Regions from separate parts of the Homo sapiens genome. Here region 1 is linked to region 2. The links are contacts of gene promoters, found by promoter capture Hi-C in blood cells and fetal thymus (Javierre and others, 2016). All regions are on one chromosome and are shown on one strand. Each heading gives the region's core, a stretch centred on a gene start or on the middle of the fragment in contact. The rest is flanking DNA. Distances are from core to core; before and after follow the strand shown. Region 1 has its middle 13 kb from the start of LINC01531. Region 2 holds the start of TMEM147 (transmembrane protein 147).

The links. Contacts are between HindIII fragments. The CHiCAGO score rates a contact against its expected background, and 5 or more counts as called.
Region 1: a contact is called between a fragment that was not itself captured here and the fragment with the promoter of TMEM147 in region 2, in 1 of 17 cell types (M0 macrophages). The highest score is 5.0, in M0 macrophages.

The regions. Positions count from the first base shown.
Region 1 is chr19:35,389,658-35,395,786 of GRCh38, reverse strand. No RefSeq gene overlaps it. Among named protein-coding and RNA genes, the nearest start is that of LINC01531, 13 kb to the left of the region's middle. The HindIII fragment of the contact is 543 bases long and covers 3,162-3,704 here.
Region 2 is chr19:35,540,777-35,546,875 of GRCh38, reverse strand. TMEM147 (transmembrane protein 147) reads right to left here and starts at 1,250. Exons shown (of 7, transcript NM_032635.4): 1 at 1,060-1,250; 2 at 919-988; 3 at 291-350; 4 at 68-204. The coding sequence starts at 1,136. GAPDHS (glyceraldehyde-3-phosphate dehydrogenase, spermatogenic) reads right to left here. Exons shown (of 11, transcript NM_014364.5): 5 at 4,467-4,557; 6 at 4,268-4,386; 7 at 3,850-3,931; 8 at 3,385-3,536; 9 at 3,049-3,211; 10 at 1,870-1,967; 11 at 1,557-1,778. The coding sequence ends at 1,706. It overlaps TMEM147-AS1 (TMEM147 antisense RNA 1), which reads left to right and starts at 847. Exons shown (of 4, transcript NR_038396.1): 1 at 847-939; 2 at 3,603-3,965; 3 at 4,802-5,125; 4 at 5,292-6,099. RefSeq lists a silencer at 669-1,248 and enhancers at 941-1,633, 3,348-3,849. The HindIII fragment of the contact is 5,741 bases long and covers 1-4,120 here.

The DNA.
Region 1 (6,129 bases), core at 2,184-4,683, 150 kb after region 2:
TCCAGGCAGCTTGAATCCCTGTGCTGCCTTATCTGCTCTCACTTGGTCAGAATCAAGGTGCTGAATGGTTTCCCATTATTATTTCTCTAATTTTAAAAAGTTGCATTATAATGTGTGAATATAGCCTTTAAAAAAACCCAACGGTACAAAAGTAAAATGTGAAATGCCGTTTCACTTCTCCCTGACACTTCTCCATTCCCAGAGGAAACCTCTATTTTGTTTATGTCCATATATGTGCGTATACAAATATTTGGTTTAAAAATGCATACACGGGGCCGGGTGTAGTGCCTCACACTTGTAATCCTAGCACTTTGGGAGGCCAAGGCAGGCAGATCACTTGAGCCCAGGAGTTCGAGACCAGCCTGGGCAATATAGTGAAACCCCGTCTCTACTAAAAATACAAAAAATTAGCCAGTGTGGTGGTGTGCACCCATAATCCCAGCTACTCGGGAGTCTGAGGCAGGAGAATTGCTTGAACCCAGGAGGCAGAGGTTGTAGTAAGCCGAGATCGCGCCATTGCACTCCCGCCTGGGCGACAGAGTGAGACTCCGTTTCAAAAAAAAAAAAAGCATAACTGGGGCTGGGCCCGGTGACTCGCGCCTGTAATCCCAGCACTCTGGGAGGCTGAGGCAGGCGGATCACCTGAGGTCAGGAGTTCGAGACCAGCCTGGCCAAGATGGTGAAACCCTGTCTCTACTAAAAATACAAAAATAAGCCAGGCATGGTGGCAGGCGTCTGTAGTCCCAGCTACTCGTGAGGCTGAGGCAGGAGAATCACTTGAACCCAGGAGGCGGAGGTTGCAGTGGGCCGAGATGGCACCACTGCACTCCAGCCTGGGTGACAGAGCAAGACTCCATCTCAAAAAAAGAAAAGAAAAAGCATAAATGGAATCATACTCCATATTTTTTTTGAAATTTTATTTTTCACCTTACAATATGCTTTAGTGATCTTTTCATGGCAGCCTATACCAATCTAGAGTCTTTCTAATGGCTACATGGTATTTCATTTTAGGACTGTCTTATAATTTATGTAACCATTTAGGATTAATTTACATAGTTTACAGTTCTCTTGGTATAACAAACAGTGCCTCTGCAAATTTATCTATTACCTATCTATCTATCTATCTATCATCTTTCTATCTAGCTAGCTAGCTAGCTATCTGAACAGGTGTGAGTATTTTGGTTAGATGAATCTTTAGATCTATAATTTATGTAATTGCTAGTTCAAAGAGGTATGCCTTGAAATTGTTGATAGATATTTGCATATTACCTTCCTGATAGTGTTTGGTAATTTACATTTCCACCAGCTGTACATGGCAGAATCCCTTCCCCTGCACCTTCTCCAACACTGGATGTTTGAATCTTTAATGTTTTTCCTCATTATGGGTAAGGATGGGTAAAAATGATGAAATCTTGTTGTTTTAGATTACATTTAGAGGATTCTTCCTACTTAAGTGATCCAGGTTCATTTCAAACCACTGTAGGAAAGGATGGACTATTCAGTAAATTATGTTGGGATAGCTGCCTATCCACTGGGAAGAATTACAGCCAGGTAACAAGAATAAAAGGCAGGTGCATTCAAGATCAAAAATGTTTTTAAAAATAATAAATGTTGTGTAGGTATTGTGTAATTTTAAAAGTCTTATAAATAAGGAGGCTTTTTCCCAGTATGACATAATGTAGAAGTCATCAAAAAATGATGAGAAATTTGAGCACATAAAAAGAGATAACCTATGAAAAACATTACAATCAACAAAGTAAAAGGCCACTATCCTTCTACTTATACACCTGATATGAGGTTTGTAAGCCAATATTCAAAGAACTCCTGTAAGTCAAATAAGAACAAAGCAAGTATTGGGAGAAACACAAATGACTCTACACAATATGTAAATATTGTCTATCTCATTTTTAATCTGGGAGATTAATATGAAAATAATACAGAGTATGACGGTTAATTTTATGTGTTGGCTTGGCCACGCCACAGTGCCCAGATATTTGGTGAAACGTTATTCTGGGTGTTGCTGTGAGGGTGTTTTTGGATGAGATTGACATTTACATTGGTGGACTCTGAGCAAAGCAGATTGCCCTCCAAAATGTGGGGGACTCCTCCAGTCACTGAAGGCCTGAACAGCACAAAAGGCTGACCTCCACATGCAAAAGAGAATTCTCCTGCATGCTGGATTCAGACTTTGTCTGCAGCAGTGGGTCTTCCTGGCTCACCAGCAGGCTCTCTTTAGACTCAACCACAACTTCTTCCTGAGCCTCGAGTCAGCCAGCTTCCTCCGTCAGATTTTGGGCTCATCAAGCATTCACAATCACATGAGCCAATTCCTTAAATAAATCTCTTTATACACACATGCAGACATGCAGACACACACACACACACACACAAACACACACACAGAAACACACAGACACACACACGGAGACACACAGTAACACACAGACACACACATGGACACACACACAGACATGCACACAGAAACACAGAGACACACACAGACACAGAGAGATATACACACACACAGAGAGACACACAGACCCACAAAAACACACAGAGACACACAGAAACACATACAAACATGCACACAGAAACACATACACAGAGACACACATTAACACACAGAGCCACAAACATACATGCACACAGACGCACACAGAGACATACAGACACACACATGGAGACACATATACAGACACACACAAAAACACACACAGAGAGAAACACACACACAGACATGCACACAGAGACACACATAGAGACACAGACAGAGACACACATACAAAAACATACAGAGACACACAGAGGTACACACACACAGAGACACACACAGACATGCACAGAGACACACACACAGATACATACACAGACACACACACAGACACACACACACCGCAGAGACACACATACACACACAGACACATGCACAGAGACACAGACACACAGACACACCCACAGACACACATACACACACTCTATTGGTTCTGTTTCTCTGGAAATCCCAGACTAATACTTAAGTTTCTAAATTCTAAATATCATCTCAAAAAATTAAAATACAATATTTTCTCTTGTCAGCAGAGTTATGGGGTCTCTTACAGACTGTTGGGGAAGAAAGGGTTGACTCAGCCGGGGAAGGTAATTCATCGATATTTATCAAAGCTTTACATGTACATATCATTTAATTCAACAGTACGACTTGTAGGAAATGCACAGTGCACGTGCCTTTATGTAAAAGGATGTTCTCATAGCATTATTTATAATAGTAGAAAATTAGAGATATTTTTAAAAAATCATTCATTCATTTATTCACCATCAAATGCCCAGTCTGTGCTAGGCACGGTTTTAGGCACCCACTGGGTATATAGTGACAAAGAAAACTGACGTGGTGACTGCTGTCATGGGCTTCTCAGTCTAGTAGGAGTCACGTTAAACAAATGAACACACACATACAAACATCAAACCATGAGAGCGCAGTGTGAGATAATATCAGAAGGGGGCTACTTGATATTGGATGATCAGGGAAAGCCTCTCTAAGGCGTGACATTGGACAGAAACTTGGAAGAAGTGGGGAACTAGCCAGGTAAAGAGTGGAAGGCATGGTGCATGCAGACATTCAGAGCTTGGCCTGCTCAAGGGACAGAGAGAAGTCCAGGCCAGAAGAGCGATGTCAGTGACACTTCTCTGGGGATGGCCCCAGAGAAGCTTGGAGAGAGAGGCAGGGCCTCAAAGGCTGTGAGGAGGAGGCCAGAATGGAAAGCCATTGAAAAGTTTTATTCAGGGCAATGACAGGATCCAATTTATATTCCTCATGAAACTGGCCTGATTGTCCCATAGATGCTTCTTTTGGATCAACGTAGAAATTCACCCTTCTTTTTTTTTTTTTTTTTTTTTTTTTAGATGGAGTCTTTCTCTGTTGCCCAGGCTGGAGTGCAGTGGTGCGATCTTGGCTCACTACAACCTCTGCTTCCCAGGTTCAAGCAATTCTCCTGCCTCAGTCTCCTGAGTAGCTGGGACTACAGGCACATGCCACCAAACCCGGCTAATTTTTTGTATTTTTAGTAGAGACAGGGTTTCACTGTGTTAGCCAGGATGGCCTTGATCTCCTGACCTCGTGATCCACCCACCTCGGGCTCCCAAAGTGCTGGGATTACAGGCATGAGCCACTGTGCCTGGCCCCCTCCTGGTCTTAAAGTTTGAAGCCTGCATTTGTCTTATCTGAGTTCTTGCCACAGGAAATCAACGAATTGAAACTCACCAGATCACTGCATCCAGACAATGAGATGCCAGACCCCTCATCCCTCCTGATTTCCTTATCCCTCCCTAATTCCTTTGACCAACTCCTCTTCCTTACCTCTCCCTAACTCTGGTTTTCCCACATGTAGTTACATTTCTTCCCTGCTGTATAACCCCCTGATTTTAGTTGACTAGGGAGATGGATTTGAGACTGATCCCCATTTTCCTTGGCTAAAGCACTCAATTAAAGCCTTCTTCCCAGGCAGTACTCATTGTCTTGGTGATTGGCTTTCTGTGCAGTGAGCAACGGGACCTAGACTGGAGCCCTGGCATTTCAGTAACAGATTTTGGTTCCCTACCTGGGAACACATTGCTTGTGGCTCAGCTGCTGCAGACTGGGACTTTCAGAAGCCCCCTGTACAGCTGTCTGACCTTTTTTTGGCTGGAGGTGGGTTTCCATCTTTTTCTCTTTGGCTCTGCTGCTGCCAGCCCCAAATGTATTGCTGATTGCCTAGGAAGAACAGACTTTGAAATTTGATATCTGTGTCTGGATGGATGAGTGTCTTTTCTGGGTTCCAGACAGCAGGAAGGGCTCCTCTCAATTTGGGAATTTTCTAAGGAATTTCCATTTGCAGGTTGAATAAGCCCAAATGATGGAGGGAGGAAAGCACCATGACTGTTTCAGTTTGGACACTCTTGGGGCTTGTTAGTGAGAACTAAGCTCTGATTTTTAAAATCTTGCCCAAATTCCTATCTAAGGGGTCTAGAGAAGTCATGCTCTACAAACCATAAATTCTCATCAGATTTTTGTTGTTGTTGTTGAGACAGTCTTACTCTGTTGCCCAGGCTGGAGTGCAATGGTGCGATCTCAGCTCACTGCAACCTCTGCCTCCTGGGTTCAAGCAATTCTCCTGCCTCAGCCTCACGAGTAGCTGGAATTACAGGTGCCTGCCACTACGCCCTGCCAATTTTTGTATTTTTCGTAGAGATGGGGTTTCACCATAATGGCCAGGCTGTTCTCGAACTCCTGACCTCAGGTGATCTGCCTGCCTCAGCCTCCAAAAGTGCAGGGATTACAAGCGTGAGCCACCATGCCCAGCCCAGATGGGTTTTATTTAACTTACATATTGTGACTTACTTTCCAATCTTACTCTGGTATAACATTACACGACAAAGAAGAAAGTCATAATATTTTACCCCAAAACATGTTTCTTTGCCATATTTTGAAATGGCCCTGCAAAGTTGTCCTTTGTGGGGGGGAAATGTGCATCTGTAAAGAATCTCTATTAACATAGCTAGATCTTTTTCTTTCAGGCCCTCCCAATCCTGAAGAGATTAACTAAGAGTCTAGCACCTTTTAAAGGTCTGAATAGGAAACATTTGTCAACTATTGTTTCTAAGGGCAGCCACTGTAAGACTTCAAAAGAACCTTGGTCTCCACAATCTTTTAACCTGAACATTTCCTTTCTATGATCCCAGGTCTTTAGACAAACTCAACCAATTGTCAACCAGAAGATGTTTAAATTTACCTATAGCCTGGAAGCCCCACCCTGCTTTGAGTTGTATCGCCTTTCTGGGCCAAACAAATGTATATCTTAAATGTATTTGATTGATGTCTCATGCCTCCTTAAAATGTATAAAACCAAGCTGCACCCCAACGACCTTGGGCACATGTTCTCAGGACCTCCTGGGGACTGTGTCATGGGCCATGGTCACTCATATTTGGCTCAGAATAAATCTCTTCAAATATTTTACAGAGTTTGACTCTTTTTGTTGACATTAGTAATTGTGTGTGTGCACAACTGCGTCTGGACATGTGAGTGATTTCTGGTGGGTACCAGAGGGCTTCTCTTGATTTGGGAAACTCAGAAGATATTTCTGTTTGCAGATGGAACA
Region 2 (6,099 bases), core at 1-2,500:
CTCCAGCACCCCCGTGGAACCCAGGTGTCCCTTCTCAGGGGTCTGGGCTCCAGGCTGCTGTACGCACCGGGACATAATAAGCTCAGCAGTGGCCCAGCCCAGGGCAGCAACCATGATCTTGTACTCTCCCTTGCCGGCATTCCGGGACATGACAAGGTTTAGACCTATCAGGTCTGCCACATCCACGCTGGCCTTCATGAACTCCTGCGGGTCAGGTTGAGGCTTAAGTAAGCACAGGGGGACAGGGAGCCCCATTCCTGAACTCCCTTCCCTTCCCTGGCCCCTCTCACCCCAATGAAGTCATAGATGCCGCCTTCCCAGGTGGGAAAGAAAGTGGCCAAGAACAGCATCTGAGAACAGAAAGCAGAAAGAGGTCACTTCAAGGTGAGGGGATCAAGATAAACCACGTGGGATTTGTGGGAAGTTCGTGGGTAGGAAGAGGGCAGGACAGGTTCTGGGGGCCCATCTGGAAGAGGAACCACCAGATGGTGGCAAAATTACAGGAATCGGGGAGATAGAGGATAGGTCCCCGGGTCCCCGAGGGGGCTGGAAGTTTGAGTTCTGGGTGATCACAGGGCATCTGAGTCAGGTCTGAAGGTGCTGCTCCTTGGGCAGTGTTAGCAGCACGTACGGAATCAGTGATCACTCTTAACCGCACCAAAAAAAACCTGTTAGCCAACCACACTACTGAGGTTTTCTCAGTTTTACTAAGTGCTACGCAAAAGTTGCTTCTAGGTCTCTTCTCAGGTCGTGCCCTCTTTAAAGTCCATCCTCTCTAGGTATCCTGACGCCTCCCAGTGCGGAGTCCCGAGGGCGGTCCCACCGTGGGGCGGCGGGGGCGCGGATAGGCAACGGGGGCGGGTCCCTGGGTCTGCAGAGCCTGGGGGCCAGAACACGTGGCTTCCCGGTGGCCCTCACCTTGCAGAGTTGGACAAAGAGGTAGGTGACTCCAGCCTGGACGCATTTCCAGAAGGCGTTGTACTCGGACCTGGAGAAGCGGGAGGTGAGGGTCGGCCCGGGCCCCGCGCCCTCTCCGCCCCGCGCCCTTCCCGCACTCACAGGCCGCTGCACTTGTAGGTGATGAAGTAGGGGAAGTAGGCAAGAGCGAAGCAGTTCCCGAAGTGAAACAGGGTCATGATGCCGGCCGCCCGGTCCCGCCCGCGCGGGGATCGCGAGGCGGCGTCTCCGGGAGCGGGTCTCCGGCTCCGCCGGCTCTTTCGCCACGGCCAGGGCCTGGCACCCACCTGACTGGCGGGGGCCCGCGCGCGACCTTCTGGGAGCAGTAGTCCCGGCGCGGGGCGTCGCGCCCAGTGACGTCAGAGAGCCCGTGGCCGGCCCTGGGTCCCACCGCTGCCGGCCCAGCGCTTTGGGGAGTGACTTCCGGCCATGCGGGGCCTCTACCGCTGCCATCGCGGTCCCGGTCTCCTGAAGTGGAACCCGGCTTGGAGTCGAGCGCGACCCCTCGCCCGTGGGCGCAGGCGATCGAGTAAGGGTGGGGCGGGCCTCAAACCCGGATCAGAACCCGCCCTGACCGGCGCAGAGATACGGGACGCAGCCGTGAGCACTGTTTTTTATTTCACCATGGACCCATCGGCGTGGGGCGCCCGCCCCGGGTGTCCTTCCTCCCCCGGGCAGCCAGATGCTGGAACGGGAGGCACATGTTCCGGCCCCGGCCCCTGGGAAGGAAAGAAAGGACCTTCCCGTTTCACTTGTCTCGGCTGAACATGTAGCGGAGGAGGTCGACCACCCGGTGACTGTAGCCATATTCGTTGTCGTACCTGTGGAGGAGGGGTCGGGAGGTTCAAGGGGGTTCCTTCCGACCACCCCTTAGTTCCCCTCCCTCTAAGTCTCCAGCTCCTTCCCCCTTACCATGAAATGAGCTTCACGAAATTGTCATTGAGCGCAATGCCGGCCTTAGCATCGAAGATGGACGAGTGGGTATCACCGAGGAAGTCCGTAGAGACGACCTGGAAGTCAGAATTTCAAAGATAAGTGTGTCCGGCAGAGCAAGGACCTCCAGGAGCTGAGGCCCCGACTCTTAACTCTATCGCCCATCCATGCATTCATCTATAATATTTGATGTAGCCCTACTGTGTCCAGTCTCTGGACTGGAGGGTATGACCAAGTGCAGGGTATGACCAAGGCACTGTGTCAGGGTCTGGCCAAAGGGCACAGGTCACAAACACCCTCATGCTGTACCAGTACATCCCTTTCCTAGGAATAATGCAAGCGTTTGGAATGGGCCAGCATGGAGGGCCTCTCTGAGGGGTGGCCATGAGCCTGGGTCTAGATGACTAGAAAGATCTGACCGGCTGGGGCCCTCAGCACAGTGTCTGAGGTAGAAGGAGCTGCAGGAAGGGAGGACCTGAGGGTTTTAGCCCTAGTGTCATGAAAGGCCACAGGAGTGTTTTCAATCCTGAAAACGGGTGATGCAATGTGATTCCATTAAAACAAAAGATCCCAGTGACTGTGGGAAAGTGGACCTGCAGGAGTTAATGCAGGGAGACAGCACCAAGGTGGATGTACAGGGGTCCACCATGACCATGGCATCCACTCCTCACAGAGAAGGCATCTGGCCATGGCCTGGCCCTGAGCAAGTATTGAAAAAAATGGGAGCTGTTGTCTTTTGTTCACTAAGCATGTATTAGTCACCTGCTGTATGCCAGGTTGGAGCCACAAAAGTGAAAAGGCAGCCCCTAAATCCCTGTTTTCTTGGAGTGCACACACCACTGGGGCCAACAGTGACTATGAAATGAAATTTCAGGTGAGGAATATGGCCACAAAAAGAACATATTTTGAGGGGGTGCCTTGCTGAAGAGGGAGGTTCCTCCAGAGACTTGGAGGAAGTAAGGACAGACTGTATGGTCACCTGGCAAGGGAAGCATTCCAGACTAAAGGAACAGCAAGTGCAAAGGCCCTGAGGCAGGGAGATCTCCCTTCCTGCCCTGCAGTTTCTGACTTGGCACATTGAGAGCAGCTCCCTGGCAAGTGGAAATCATGTCCCTTCCCAGAGGGCTCCTCCCAGGGTCTCCTCTCCTCAGCCCCTACCTCATCCTCGGTGTAGGCAAGGATGCCAGCCATGGGCCCCTTGGCTGCTGCTTTTACAGCCTCCTTGATGGCTGAGTAGGGGGCAGGCTGGGCGAGGCGGCAGGTCAGGTCCACGACAGACACATCCGGGGTTGGTACCCGGAACGCCATCCCTGTCAGCTTCCTGGAGAATCCCCCATGAGGAACAGGAGTCAGAACTTAGGGACGTTGCCCTCCATTCCCCCTTTCCCTGTGGCTGGGCCAGGCCCCTGCTTTCCTCTTAAGGACTGAGGGCCGGGCCAGTCCAGTCCTCCTGGCGTATGCCCCCACCCTGGTTGCAGCTTCTTGTCCTCATACCCTTTGAGCTCTGGGATGACTTTGGTCACAGCTTTCGCAGCCCCAGTGGAGGCTGGGATGATGTTCTGGTGGGCACCCCGCCCATCTCGCCAGGCCTTCCTTGATGGCCCGTCCACTGTCTTCTGGGTGGCCGTGTAGGAATGGACTGTGGTCTTGGGGAAGAGAAGGACCAAGATGAGGCCTTCATGCTCCTAAGCTCCCATGCCTCTTTTTTCCAGGACTAAGTTGGTGGCCTAGGTGTGGAGGCTGGTGGGGCCACCACCACAGACCACAGGAGGGGATGTGTGCAGGCCAGGGTCCAGCCTTGCCTGAGGGTTGCACAGTGTTTTAAGTGACTTCTGCACTGGTGGGCCTCTCCTCCCGAAACCAGTCTCTCCCTCTTAACTCCATACAGTAAGCAAGGCCCGGGAAGAAGTTGGGTTTCCCTGCCATCCTTCCTGCCCCAGCCCCTCATCCTCAACTCACCATCAACCCTTCCACGATCCCAAATCGCTCGTGGATGACTTTGGCGAGGGGAGCCAAACAGTTGGTGGTGCAGGACGCGTTGCTGAAACAGCCAAGGTGTGCACGGACACTGTGAGGTGAGTCGCAGAGCCACCCCTCCACCCTTACCCCTCTTGGGGTATGCACGCAGACTTGGTTTTATGAAACGTCAGGATGAGGGTGAGAGGGATCTGTGGGGACACTGTCAGACTGAAGGAGGCACTGAGGTGCAGCTGGGGAGGCTCCCCAAGCTTGTCCTCTGGAAGTCATGCGTTTTTAGCAGATAGTTTCGGGAAGGAGAAGCAGAAGCCAAGCGACCAGGAATCCAGTGGGGCTGAGGGTGGGGAGGACGAGTCTACCCTCCCTTCCACACATTGCAGGATGTCACTGCCCACATTACCTCACAATGTTCATGGAGCCAGGGTTATAGTCATTTTCATTGACACCCATGACGAACATTGGTGCATCCGGTGAGGGCGCGGAGATGACCACACGTTGAGCACCTGCAGAGATGTGGTCCTGGGGAGGAAGCGCAGGTGTCAGGGGCTTCTGGCACCATCATCCCCCCAGCTAGCCCTGGGCACCTCTCCCCAGCTTACCGAAGCTGCCTGTATGGAGAGGTACACGCCTGTGGACTCCACCACGTAGGGGCTCCCGACAGCCCTCCAGGGGATCTGTTTGGGCTCTTTGCTGTGGGGAAGTGGCAGGGCTGAGTCAGTCTCCCCTGCTTGAGCCCCACCTTCATAGTCCATGGCTTTCACCATTTGACAGGCTGAGCAGGTACCGGCCCACCTGCAACCACCTGCGTCCCCTACCCCACACACCTACTTGTTCCAGATGGGCTCCACCCCGCTGGCCTAGCTTTTCACCACTGCCCCACTTCAGACCACTTTCCCTTTGCTGATTGCACCACCCCTGTTATGCCTGGGTACAGGTGGTGACCTCCCCAACTCAGCCCTCAACCTCCTCAGAGGCGCCAATGCTGACTGCTGTCAGCCAGCCCAGACCCTTTCTCCATATGCTGCCCGGGACGTGGACTCTGTGACTGTGAGGCCTGCCCGGCTGCTTTCTGCTTCCCAGCTCTGACAACCTCGCCATGAACCCTCCTAGACCCTCAGCTCCTGCAATAGGAAGCTGGCTGCCAAAGGCCAGGAGGGTCCCTGAAAACAGACACTGCATTAAAGAAAAAGCTCCTGGAGGACTCCTGAAGCCTGAGGCAGCCTTGGGGCAGCAGTGGCTCATGGTTTACATTGGAAAGGTAAGGGAGGTTTCTGGTTTCCTGTTTTATAAATTTATGTTTTTACTTGGTATTTTGACAAACATTTGTATTTGAAGCACACTAAACATCTAGTATTGCCGTTTTCTACTTGGCTTTAGCAAACAAGCATTAAGTGAATAAACTGTTCCACTTTCTTCCTTCCCAGGTTTATCATGAGTAACCGGGTGCTTTGCTTCTGTGATTCTTGGCCAGTGTCGGTCTGTTTCCTTTGCCATTGAGCCTGCTCCCCTCAATGGGGGGTTCAATCAATGTTTGTGGGGTTTGTTTGTTTTGAGACAGGGTCTTCCTCTGTCGCCCAGGCTGGAGTGCAGTGGTGCAATCAGAGCTCACTGCAGCCTTGATCTTCCTGGCTCCGGCCATCCTCCTGCCTTGGCCTCCCGAGTAGCTGGGACTACAGGCGCACACCACCATGCCAAGCTAATTTTTAAATTTTTTTGTAGAGATGGGGTCTCACTTTTGTTGCCCAGGGTGCTTTAGAACCCCTGGGCTCAAGTGATCCTTGACCTCCCACAGTGCTGGGATTACAGGTGTGAGCCACCGTGCCTGGCCTCATGGGTTTTCTTTGTTTTGTTTTGTTTTGTTTTTGAGACAGAGTCTCACTCTGTCACTCAGGCTGGAGTGCAGTGGCACGATTTTGGCTCACTGCAACCTCCACCTTCCGGGTTCAAGCGATTCTCCTGCCTCCGCCTCCCGAGTAGTTGGGGTTACAGGCATGCGCTACCACACCTGGCTAGTTTTTTATTGTTGTTGTTTTTTGTATTTTTAGTGGTGACGGGGTTTGCTCTGTTGGCCAGGCTGGTCTCAAACTCCTGACCTCAGGTGATCCCCACTTCAGCCTCCCAAAGTGCTGGGATGACAGGCATGAGCCTCTGCACCTGGCCTCGTGTTTTTTTTTTAGTTAGCCATTTTATACGTGTTTACTGAACACCTGTCCTGTGCCCATATTCTAAGTG